2 separate regions of the Homo sapiens genome follow, and region 2 is linked to region 1. The links are contacts of gene promoters, found by promoter capture Hi-C in blood cells and fetal thymus (Javierre and others, 2016). All regions are on one chromosome and are shown on one strand. The core of a region is centred on a gene start or on the middle of the fragment in contact, and the rest is flanking DNA. Distances in the headings are between cores, read along the strand shown. Region 1 holds the start of FRYL (FRY like transcription coactivator). Region 2 overlaps COMMD8 (COMM domain containing 8).

What was found. The method cuts DNA at HindIII sites, captures the fragments that hold promoters and counts their contacts. A CHiCAGO score of 5 or more calls a contact.
Region 2: a fragment that was not itself captured here is called in contact with the fragment with the promoter of FRYL in region 1 in 2 of 17 cell types (naive CD8 T cells and naive CD4 T cells); the score reaches 7.6 in naive CD8 T cells.

Annotation. Positions count from the first base shown.
Region 1 is chr4:48,778,384-48,783,793 of GRCh38, forward strand. It overlaps FRYL (FRY like transcription coactivator), which reads right to left and starts at 1,896. Exons shown (of 64, transcript NM_015030.2): 1 at 1,695-1,896. RefSeq lists silencers at 862-1,741, 1,832-1,941. The HindIII fragment of the contact is 8,638 bases long and covers 1-2,906 here.
Region 2 is chr4:47,458,053-47,463,395 of GRCh38, forward strand. It overlaps COMMD8 (COMM domain containing 8), which reads right to left. Exons shown (of 5, transcript NM_017845.5): 2 at 2,092-2,247. Among named protein-coding and RNA genes, the nearest start is that of COMMD8, 3.0 kb to the right of the region's middle. The HindIII fragment of the contact is 2,682 bases long and covers 2,592-5,273 here.

The sequences.
Region 1 (5,410 bases), core at 646-3,145:
AGAACTAATTTTACAAAATAATTCAGAGTGGAAGACAAGACACGATGGAATGCTATTTTTGATAATGAGTAGCAGAAAAAAGACCAGAGAATAACACACCCACTGCTACTTTGTTTATACGGTTGTAACTTGCACATGCAAGTACTCTACATAAAGTATTGCACAAGAAGAAACTGTCAAAAATGAATGCTTATGAAAACATTCTTCACTAAGGCCTCTAACAAGGAATGTGCTATCTCTGATTTCCTCGGCAAGTATTGACAGATTAAGCAGAGTGATAATGCTCAAGATGAAAAGACGTCTTATACTAGTTTTTATCAATAGTAAAAGCTGTTGGTACTAATTATAATGGCTGTAAATTCAGTAGCAGAATCAACTTTACAGACGATATCTCCTAGGCAGCACAGCATTTTATAAAACCAACTTTACTTCCATCAAAACCCTTTTTCCCCCCCAATCCGACAGACCCTGGCAACCTGTCTTGCTGTGTCTTTTTTCCCCTACCCTTCCAAAAGAACCCCAGCCAGTGAATCGAAGTAATATTTTCCGCAGTTCAAAGGTAAGGGCAAACTCAGCTCTACTAAGAACTCTTGCTCCTCACCAGCACACACCCTAACCCCCACCCCCTTTTTTTTCTTTTCAAATCTTGGCCTAGGAAAGATTAATGCTCCCATATCATTGCAAATCCACAAAAATGCGATTTTAGGTGGCGAGGAACTAAACTAGGATGGCAGGAAAGACCGGCAGCAATAAATCATTTCGCCCTAGAAACCAGCCTCTCCAGAACGCAGGAAACCAGGCTGTGCCCAAAGAACCTGCCGCCCGGAAGCAACAACTTCCATCAAACGGCAAATAAAAGTTGCAAAGAAGAGCTCAGCGCCCAGGCACCCTGCCCGGTGCCGAGGCTGAGAGCAGCAGGCAATCTACAGGCCGAGTCAGCTCGCGGGCGGTGGCCGCGGTGTCCGCAGGGCTGGCTCCGGCTCCGGAAGACTCCGGGTCCCGGGGTACGCCAACGGCCCGGGGCTGCGCGGGCACAGCGCCCGCACCCCTCCCCAGGACCGCGAGCAGTGGGCGGAGAGACCAGAGCAAGGGAAAAGGCGGACAATGCCCGGCTGGGCTGGCGCGCTCCGCCGGTCCCCGCCAGCCCTGCCCGCCGGGGCCCGCCAGCCGCCGCGCTAAGTTTGCTCCTCAGCCCTCCCTTCCCAGCCGAGGCGGCGGAGCCGTGGTCGCCGGTCTTCCTCCACCTCTGCCACCGCCTTCCTTCCCGCGGGGCGGCTCCCGCGAGTCGGTGGCGAGGCGGCGCGCGACCAGAGCAGGACGCGCGAGAAGGCGGCGCGCGAGGGGTACCCGGGCGCGCGCGAGAAGAGCCAGGCACTGGAGGGGAAGGGGACGTGCGGGAGAGACGGGCGCGCGGCGCTGCCGGCGGAACCGCCGGAGCTCGGGCGGGCTTTCGGTTGAGGCTGGGGTTGCGCCGCGGTTTGGTGTCCGTTACGAGCGCCGGCCCGGGCCGCGCCGCGCCGCTTGCCAGCCATCCTGGACCGCCTTCCCTCGGCGCCCACCAGGAAGGACAGCTGGCGAGGGCCGACGACCTCGTCTCCCGCCCAGGCTGGGCTGCCGGCGGCGGGCATCCCGGCGCCTGCCCCGGGGCTGGAAGAGAAAGTAAAATGAAGCGCCTTTCCCCAGTCAACACCTACCCGTTCCCAGTCCTAGTACAGCTGCCTCGCTCCTCCAGCGCCGCCGGTCCCCGCCCTCGGGCCCCTGGCTCCGTTCTCTTGACAATGGCGCGTCCCCTTTAAGGAATAATCCGATCGGAACCGATCTGTGGTTAAACCTCCCTCCGACTCTGATTTTAACCGGATTTCTCTCTCGCTCTCTCCCAGAGCCCGACGGGCGCCCGGCTGTGCTGCGAGGTCTTCCCACCCCTTCCCTACCCCGCCCGCCCCCTGGCCTTCCTGATTGGCGAGAAACACTACAACAGGAACAGCAGTCCTCGCCCTCCACTGGCCTGGCCAGCCGCCGCTCAAAGTTGCTCCTACCTTCTCCCCGCCCCTTTTCCCGGGTTGGTCTTCCCTCTAATCATTCTCTGCCCTCGCCTCTAACGTTGCTTTGGAGCCCTGGCAGTCAAGGCTCACCCTCCCGCCTCCGGAAAGCGAACTTTATTTTTATTGGTGAAAGGACATCTTCCTGTACACTTGATTGGGCAAGGAAAGAGCTAGTCTGCACGCTCCCTACCATTATTACTCTCTCTTTACGGGCTTGAGAAACACAGCCGCAAAGTCCTCTCCGCTTTGCCTTCTAGGAGCGACTTTACCTTTAAATGTTGTTAGGGGTCGAGGACAAACTCATATCCTATATTGAGGAAAGCTGGAAAGGGACAAGAGAAAAATTCAAAATTTTCTCCCGATCAGTAATGTATCCAGAGCTGGCGCCCGGATCCTGCGGAACCTTATCCAATGATCCAGAGAATGGAATGGTTAGAATTGAGTTAGAATACCTGAAAGTCCAGTGCTAATTCCTCCTGAGATTTACTCAACAAGTTTCATCCACTGTCCGCCCTACTCATACCATTGATTGCACTGGCATTTTGCCACCCGGAAGAGCTTTAATCAAGTTATCTGCAAACCTGGAGGTTTCCTTGCTTGTCTCGCAATTGTTCATTTAGAAAATCATTTCCATTACAAGTTCCGTTTAAGTCACGTCCTCTGTGACGTTCCCGCGTTTCCACGAGACCTGTTACTTTTTTGAAAAAATTAAGTAGATGGTACCCTTATGCCATCCTCAAAGTGTAGGACTTCGTTCCCCCTTGCTAGAACTGTAGGAAAAACACCCCAGGTCACTTGAACAACTGAGATGCCTCTCAGGAGAAAACGAGTCTGTCTAAGGGAAAGAGGGAATCTGATACCAGAAGCTTGACCATGGAGCAGAACCTCACGCATTGAAAAGAGAAGAAATTATGGGGAAGCCTAGTGCGGGGTCTGCTTTAGAGTTTCCCCAGTTTCCCACTGGAGCTGTAAGAACTAAAAGGTTTATTTCCACTAAAATTGAGTACAGGTACAGCTTCGGTACCCATCTAAGAATGTTAGGGGAAAATGGTTATGTGTTCTCTCCCTCTTTGCCGATGAACCTTGAAGACTGTGTACCCCGGGGGCTTTAGTACATTTGCAGTGATACCCCAGTATAATCTAATGGTGCCAAGGAAGTGTCAGTGCTCAGCAGTACCCTAGAAAAGGGGCTTGATGATGACAGAGAAGGGTAAGTAAACATCAGTAGTTGGTAGTTCATAGGACTTTTCCCCAAATACAGGTGAAAAATTTCATGAGGATTCCCGAAAATATGAAAGAGCAGGAAACAAAAGGGAACGTTGCAGGAAGGTGGTTTAGGTATCACTAGTGGGGGCAAGAGACGATGAACTATCTGGGTTGCATTTATATGGCCTTCACAGATACACACATCCTCCCTATTAAGTCCCTATAACTAAATCCCTATGCTTAGCCTATTCTGATTTTACTGTATAATAAAACTGCAGCCAAGCTAAACTAATACTTCTGGTTTACTCACTTACCACTCTCAAACTCTGAGACTGCTTCTGGGTTCTAATATTCTACATTAGAATATAAGAAGAAGAAGATACTATGTACTGATATCTAGTATGATCTTCTGGAGATAAAGATATCCAGTGTTTCAGGCATGTACACACCTGCAGCTTTTGTTCAAGGTCTAAGTGATGTTTTCAGGTTCTTTCTAAAACACCTGCCCTATGATATCCAGCTTGTTACTGCCCTCTTTTGCTGCACTAGCAGACTGGGCATATAAACTAGAGAAGGCAGTCTACAGTAACCTCTAGATTCTCTTACTTGCATTGAACCAACTATGCTGAGATTATCACCTTTCAAGTATAATTTGTGTTATTCTTTTCTCTAAATATTTCATATTTGCCCACAATAGGATCATTTATCACTTTTTAGCCCACACATGCAACTTCCTGGTACTAATACTCCTACTGGCATTTCACAGCAAAGAAGAATTTTAAAAATCTACAAACCTGGAGCTTACAACGTAGAGGTTATTCTTAAGAATGTTCAGTGTTGATGAACACAGCCCCAGTTCTAACCCTGGAGAATTTTACAAGTTGTACTTTCTCATTCAGAGAGACTTTATCTCTCTACCTTAGTTTCTCATTCTAAGCCCAATCCCCACTCTTTAAAAAAAGAATATTTCTCGGCTGGGTGCAGTGGCTCACGCCTGTAATCCCAGCACTTTGGGAGGCCAAGGCAGGTGGATGACTTGAGGCCAGGAGTTCAAGACCAGCCTGGGCAACATGGCGAAACCCCATCTCTGCAAAAAATACAAAAATTAGCTGGTGGGAATGGTCACAGGCCTGTGATCCCAGCTACTGGGGAGGCTGAGGCAGGAGAATCACTTGAACCCGAAAGGCGAAGGTTGCAGTGAGCCAAGATTGCACCACTGTACTCCAGCCTGGGCGACAGAGTCTCACTCTGTCACACACACACACACACACACACACACACACACACACACCCTTCTCCAATGTGCTAATGTAAATAAAGCTTTTTAAATTATTGTATATAGATGTTTGTTAAAGTCTTTTAAATGGTGAAATACCTCCAGGCACCATGGCTCACACCGTGCCAGTAATCTCAGCACTTTGTGAGGCCGAGGCAGGCAGATCACCTCAGGTCAGGAGTTCAAGACCAGCCTGGCCAACATGGTGAAACCTCGTCTTTACTAAAAATACAAAAATTAGCCGGGCGTGGTGGCGCATGCCTGTAATTCCAGCTACTCGGGAGGCTGAGGCAGGAGAATGGCTTGAACTCGGGAGGCGGAGGTTGCAGTGAGCTGAGATCGCACCACTGCACTCCAGCCTGGATGACATAGCAAGACTCCGTGTCAAAAATAAAAAATACAAAAAAAGTGAAATATGTTATGATCACTATTCTCCCTGTTTATATGCAAATGTACCCCTCAAAGAGGTTCCATAGTTTAACCAGTAATTATTTTTCCTCTGAAAAATTATGTTACCATTCCTATTGGAAATTCTTTCCAGTTCACCACACACTTATATAGCGACTATTATGTGTTAAGAATAGTGAGAAAATGGGGGCCAAGTGCAGTGGCTCACACCTGTATTCCCAGCACTGGGAGGCCGAGGCAGGTAAATCACTTGAGCTCAGGAGTTCGAGACCAGGCTGACCAACATGGTGAAACCCCGTCTCTACTAAAAATACAAAATTAGCTGGGCGGGGTGGCGCGTGCCTGTAATCCCAGCTACTCAGGAGGCTGAGGCAGGAGAATCGCTTGAACCTGGAAGGCGGAGGTGCGGTGAGCTGAGATGTTGCCATTGCACTCCAGCCTATGCAACAAGAGTGAAACTCCGTCTAAAAAAAAAAAA
Region 2 (5,343 bases), core at 2,683-5,182, 1.3 Mb before region 1:
CATTTCATAAAATTCAATATCCATTCATGGTAAAAATTCTCAGCAAAGTTAGAATTGTAGGATGCTTCTTTAGTCTGATAATGGATATCTATAAAATTACAGAGCTAACATACTAAATGGTGAAATAGTAAACACTTTCTCCCTAAGGTTAGGAATAGATATATATCTACTATGACTGCTTTTTTAAAAGAAACACTGACTACTGGTGTTAGCCAATGCGCTAAGGTAAGAAAAATAAATGAAAGATGTTAAAGTTGAAAAAGAAAATTATTATATACAATCTCCCCCCAAAAAATCTGTATACAATTAGACACAGTAAACAAATTTAGAAAGGCTGTGGGACACAAGGTATATAAAAATCAACTGTACATACTAGCAAAAAACTACTGAAAAATTAAAGATCAAAAACATCATTTACTCAGAAATAAAAATATTTGCAAGAGCTCAACACTGAAAACTACAAAATACGAGAGAGACAAACTAAAGCTAATCTAAATAAATAGAGGGCTATCCCATGTTCTTAACTTTGGAAAGCTAAATGTTGTTAAGATGTCAATTCTCCCCATAAATGATCTCTATCAAAATTCCAGCAGGTTTGTAGGTTAAAACTGAAAAGTTGATTCTAGAGGGTTATCCGAAAATATAATAGCCAAGGCACTCCTGAAGAAGCATGAGAATGAAGGTCTTCTATTACCAGATATGAAGACATAATTTAATTTAGCTTTAATTCTACAGTAATTAAAGCAGTATAGCATTGGCAAATATACAAAAGTAGACTAATGGAATACATTGAAGAGTTGAGATACAGAGGCACAAATATAGGGCCACTTGATTTACAATAAAGGCAGCACAGCAATATTGTGGGGCAAGGATGGTCATTTCAATAAATGGTCAACTAGATATTAATGTAGAAAATTGTGAACTTGACCTCCACTCCATACACAAATATTAATTCAAAATGCATCAGTAACATAATGTGAAAGCTAAAACAATCAAGCTTCTACAAGAATACATCCAAGAATCTTCATGTCTTCAGCACAAATATTTCTGAAACAAAACATTAATAGTATTAGCCAGCAAAAGAAATATTGACAAAGTAGATCTGTTAAATTTCATAACTTGTTTCACCAAAAGATACCATTAAGAGAGTAAAAAGGCAAGCACATAATAGAAGATATTTAAAATACATATTTCTAACAATGAGCTTATATCCAGAATATCAACCAAATCAATGACAAACATACATAACTTGATTTTTAGAAAAGTGAGCAACCTACACAAGCTCAAATGATTTTTGACAAAGATGCAAAAGCAATTCAGTGGAAGAAGGATATCCTATGACCATGCAATTTCACTTCAAGATATCTACCCCAGAAAAGCTGGTGTGAGTGTGAACAAGGAGACATGTAAAGAACATTTATAGCAGCACTACTTGTAATAATGAAAGAAGCAATGACTATTCATTAGTCAGTAGGGAGATAAATAAATCCTATTTAATTCCTATCATCAAATACTACAAGGAGTTAAAATACACTAACTAGATCCATGTTTATCAATGTAAAACACAATGCTGCATTTAAAACAATTTACAAGTGCAGACAAATGTTACATTTTATTACAAGTTATACACTGACACACCCCAAATAATTTCAATACACTAAAAGATTCAAACATACACACAATATATAATACAAAACATGAACACCACCTTCAAGAGTGGTGATCTCTAGGTAAGAGTGGGATATCCAGGAGGGGGATAAGGGAATTTAGGTTATCTTTGTAATGCTTTATTTCTGAAACAAACACACACATTGCAAAATGTTAACACCTGTTTAACTGGTAATGTGAATGTAGGTGTCAGTTATATAATTTCTTGTTTTCTTCTGTATGTTTTAAATGTTTCACAAAAGAGTAAAAACAACCAAAAACAAAACTGCAAAAACCTAGGACTTCCACAGATTTTTCCATTCACAATTATAAGGTATTTGTTGTTACTGATGATAGCCCTTGTATTATACATTGCTCTAAAAAACTCAGAGAGAAACCTGAGCATTATTTATTGTAAGTTATAGAAATGTGCAGAGAAGTTACCTCTTCATCAGGTAAGTTTTTACCAACTATGGCTTTGAAAAATTTGGCAATATCTTCTAAAACGTGCATCCATTCTTCTGATTCCCAAACAGTGTGATAATCTTGGTACACAGGATAAGCTCGACCACAAATGCCATCAATTATTTTGTGAAGAAGCTAGCAAGAAAAAAGGAAATAAATGTACTTATAAGTAAAATGATGAAACAAATTTATCTTCCTCTTAACAAACAAATGTTGGGAGATGTTCATGTTATCTGCAAGACCAGCTTAAGTTAAAATGTATAAACCACTTTTAAGATTATTCTAATTAAAAATTAGAACTCATAAAAATCCTAGACTTTCTATTATTATGTTGACCTTCAGAAGCTAAAATAATTTTGTTATAAAAATTACATAATGAAAAAACTAAAAGGAAGATACATATAAAAGATTCCATATTTATAGCAACGACCAAACAAAAGGATAGGACTTATATCAAAGTCTCTTACTGTAGGCCTATAAGCTTCATTTTGCTTTGCCTCCATTTTCACAACATACTTTTTTTTCTTTTGAGGGTCTCACTATGTTGCCCAGGCTGGCCTTGAACTCCTGAACTCAAGCAATTTTCCCATCTCAGCCTCCCAAGTAGTTAGGACTGCAGACGAGCACCACCGCACCCAGCTCAGCAGTTACTTTTGCTGTATTCCCAGAAAGTCTCCAGTACTTTTTTCCTTTTTTTACTTTCCTTTCTATCCTATTAGTATCTTAATATCAGCAACAGAAAGCCTAACACATGTATAACTGAGCATAGTGATTAAGACTACGGATTTTGGAATAAAACTATCCAGTTCCAATCCCAGTTTCAGTATTTTCAAGTTTTATTTAAATGTTCTGAGTCTGCTTCCTCAAGTGTTAAATGAGGATATCATCTATTCTCTTAATCTTGCTGTAAGGATGGAATAAGAATACGTGCAAATCACTTGGCATCTTCCTGGCATGTACAAAGACATGTAGACATTGCTAGCCCTCGTTACCATTCTAATTATTATCACTAGTCCTCCTCCTCCAATTCATGCCTTCAGCATCTATTAACTGAGATAACACAATGCCAGTACTATTCTAAGCACTTAACATTTAATAAGGTTATCTTTCTTGAAGTTATTTGTATCTTACAAGAGGAGTATTTGAACCAAATAACTTGGAAATAATCATATTCCACCCCATTTTAACTAATAACTCCTTCCCTCTAACACCACACATGCCAGAACACAAGCAACTGCTTCCAAATGGTGGCTAATATACTATACAAACTGAATTTTTATTTACCATAAATCAACATACTCAATTTTGAATCCATTCAAAATTCTCTACACCTTATCCTATACTGTCCCCATGCTAAAAAAAAAACCCAGAACTCAAACTGAAAAATAAAAGCATTATCTTTTTTGGAATATGTTTGTTATTCATTCACAAATATGTAATGAACACTTCATCCCAGTTATTAAATAAAGTCATGGAAATGACCTTATTTAATGACAAAGGTCATGGAAATGACTTTATTTAATGGCAAAGAAACTATAATAGCTACCGTTATGGATCCCTAACTAGGTACCACACTCTGGACTGATCCTCACTACAACTCTGAAGTAACCATTGTTATTATTTCTATTTTACAAATGAGGAAACTGAGAATAAATAAGGCCCTACCATAACAGAGCTTTAGTCCATTCGAAAAAGGCAAACATACAAATACATGTAATTTAGAATGATGGGGCCATAATAAAAATATATACAAGGTACGAAGGAGCACAGAGAGGAAGCAAGGAAAAGTCCATCTTAAAAGGATGAGTAGTTGGCCAAGCAAAACAGGAGAGAAGAAGTGCATTTCTAGACACAAGCAAGTTATTTTGGGGGGTGCCTAGGGGGTGACAGGAGACAAGGCTGGAGAGGTGGGTGGAGCCAAATCAAAAAGGGCCTTGTGTACAAAGTAAAAGAGCCTAGACTTCAATCTGTGCTCAACCGGGAAGCAACCTATTCACACATTTGCATTATTTTTCCATATATTTGCTAACAGGTTGGAAGATGTAAGAGAGAGGGTGAGCCCAGATGCCTCAATTTTCAGTTAAGGAGTTAAAGATTAAGGGGCTTAAATTGTTGAGGACACTCAAAATGGAGGCAGTAAAGAGGTAGAAGAGATGTGAAAAGGGGGGGCCATGGATGAAACCTAGAACGTCAGGTTGAGAGGGGCTGGGTGAAAGTGGTGGTGCCACAAACCGAAAATGAGGCTACGGGAGGAGTAGGTCCAGGGGGAAAGAAGAGCTGAGGCAAGGGCATACTGAATTTGAGGTACCTGTGGCAGAAGCCTGACACTCAGGGAAGAGATTTTGGTTTGGGGTTTTTGGGGTTTTGTTTTGTTTTTTACCTGGCATTCTTGAACCATAGAGGAAGAAATTTTTGGCTGGACCTAAAGATTTAGAAGTCATCGACATATATGGTAATAAAGGTTATGGGCCTTATCTAAATGGGTAGAGTGAAGACAAGGAGAGCCAAAAGCCAATAAAACACTCAGAATCAACAGATCTGAGCATAAGTTCCAGCTCTGCCACTAACTGGATGGGCAATCCTGGGCAAGTTAGCCAAAATTTCTGCTGACATTTCAGGTTCCTCACTTGCAAAAACAAAGAAAAGAATTAGGTGTTTTTTTTTCTTGACCCTGGCAGGAGGTAAGTTCATTCCTTTCTGTCTCCTCCACACTTTCTCCAGTATAAATGGAATAGAGGAAACAGGAAGCCAAAATTGAGACTTATAAAAAAGATGCTCCACCAGGGCACAGGCTGTGTCTCACTCACCATTTACCTCATCCCATCGGGGCGCTCAATCTATGGTAGACTTCAATGAAAAACTGGCTGAACAAATGAATGTGGTTGCTTTTTCCAGATTCTTACAAGCCAGGTTCTTTTACAGACTGGAAGTCAATGGGTACATCACCTCTTGGGACGATCCTAACTAAAGTAACTCGCCCAGTTATTTCTCTTCCTACCAACCACCCTCAAGGGGGGAGGCAGGGTCCGCTTCGGTCTTTGTCACATTGTATTCCAGCACCTAGCTCTGTACCTGCTGTCCGGTAGGTAGGGAGCCTTTGGGAGGTTATGTGTTGAATGAATTAAGAAAACGTATACTAAGAGGCAGCAAACACCGACTTAAGCTTTCAAAGCCCAGTCTGGTGTGGGCGCTTCTGCGCGCAAAGCCCCTGGAGCTGCACCTCTAGGCTGG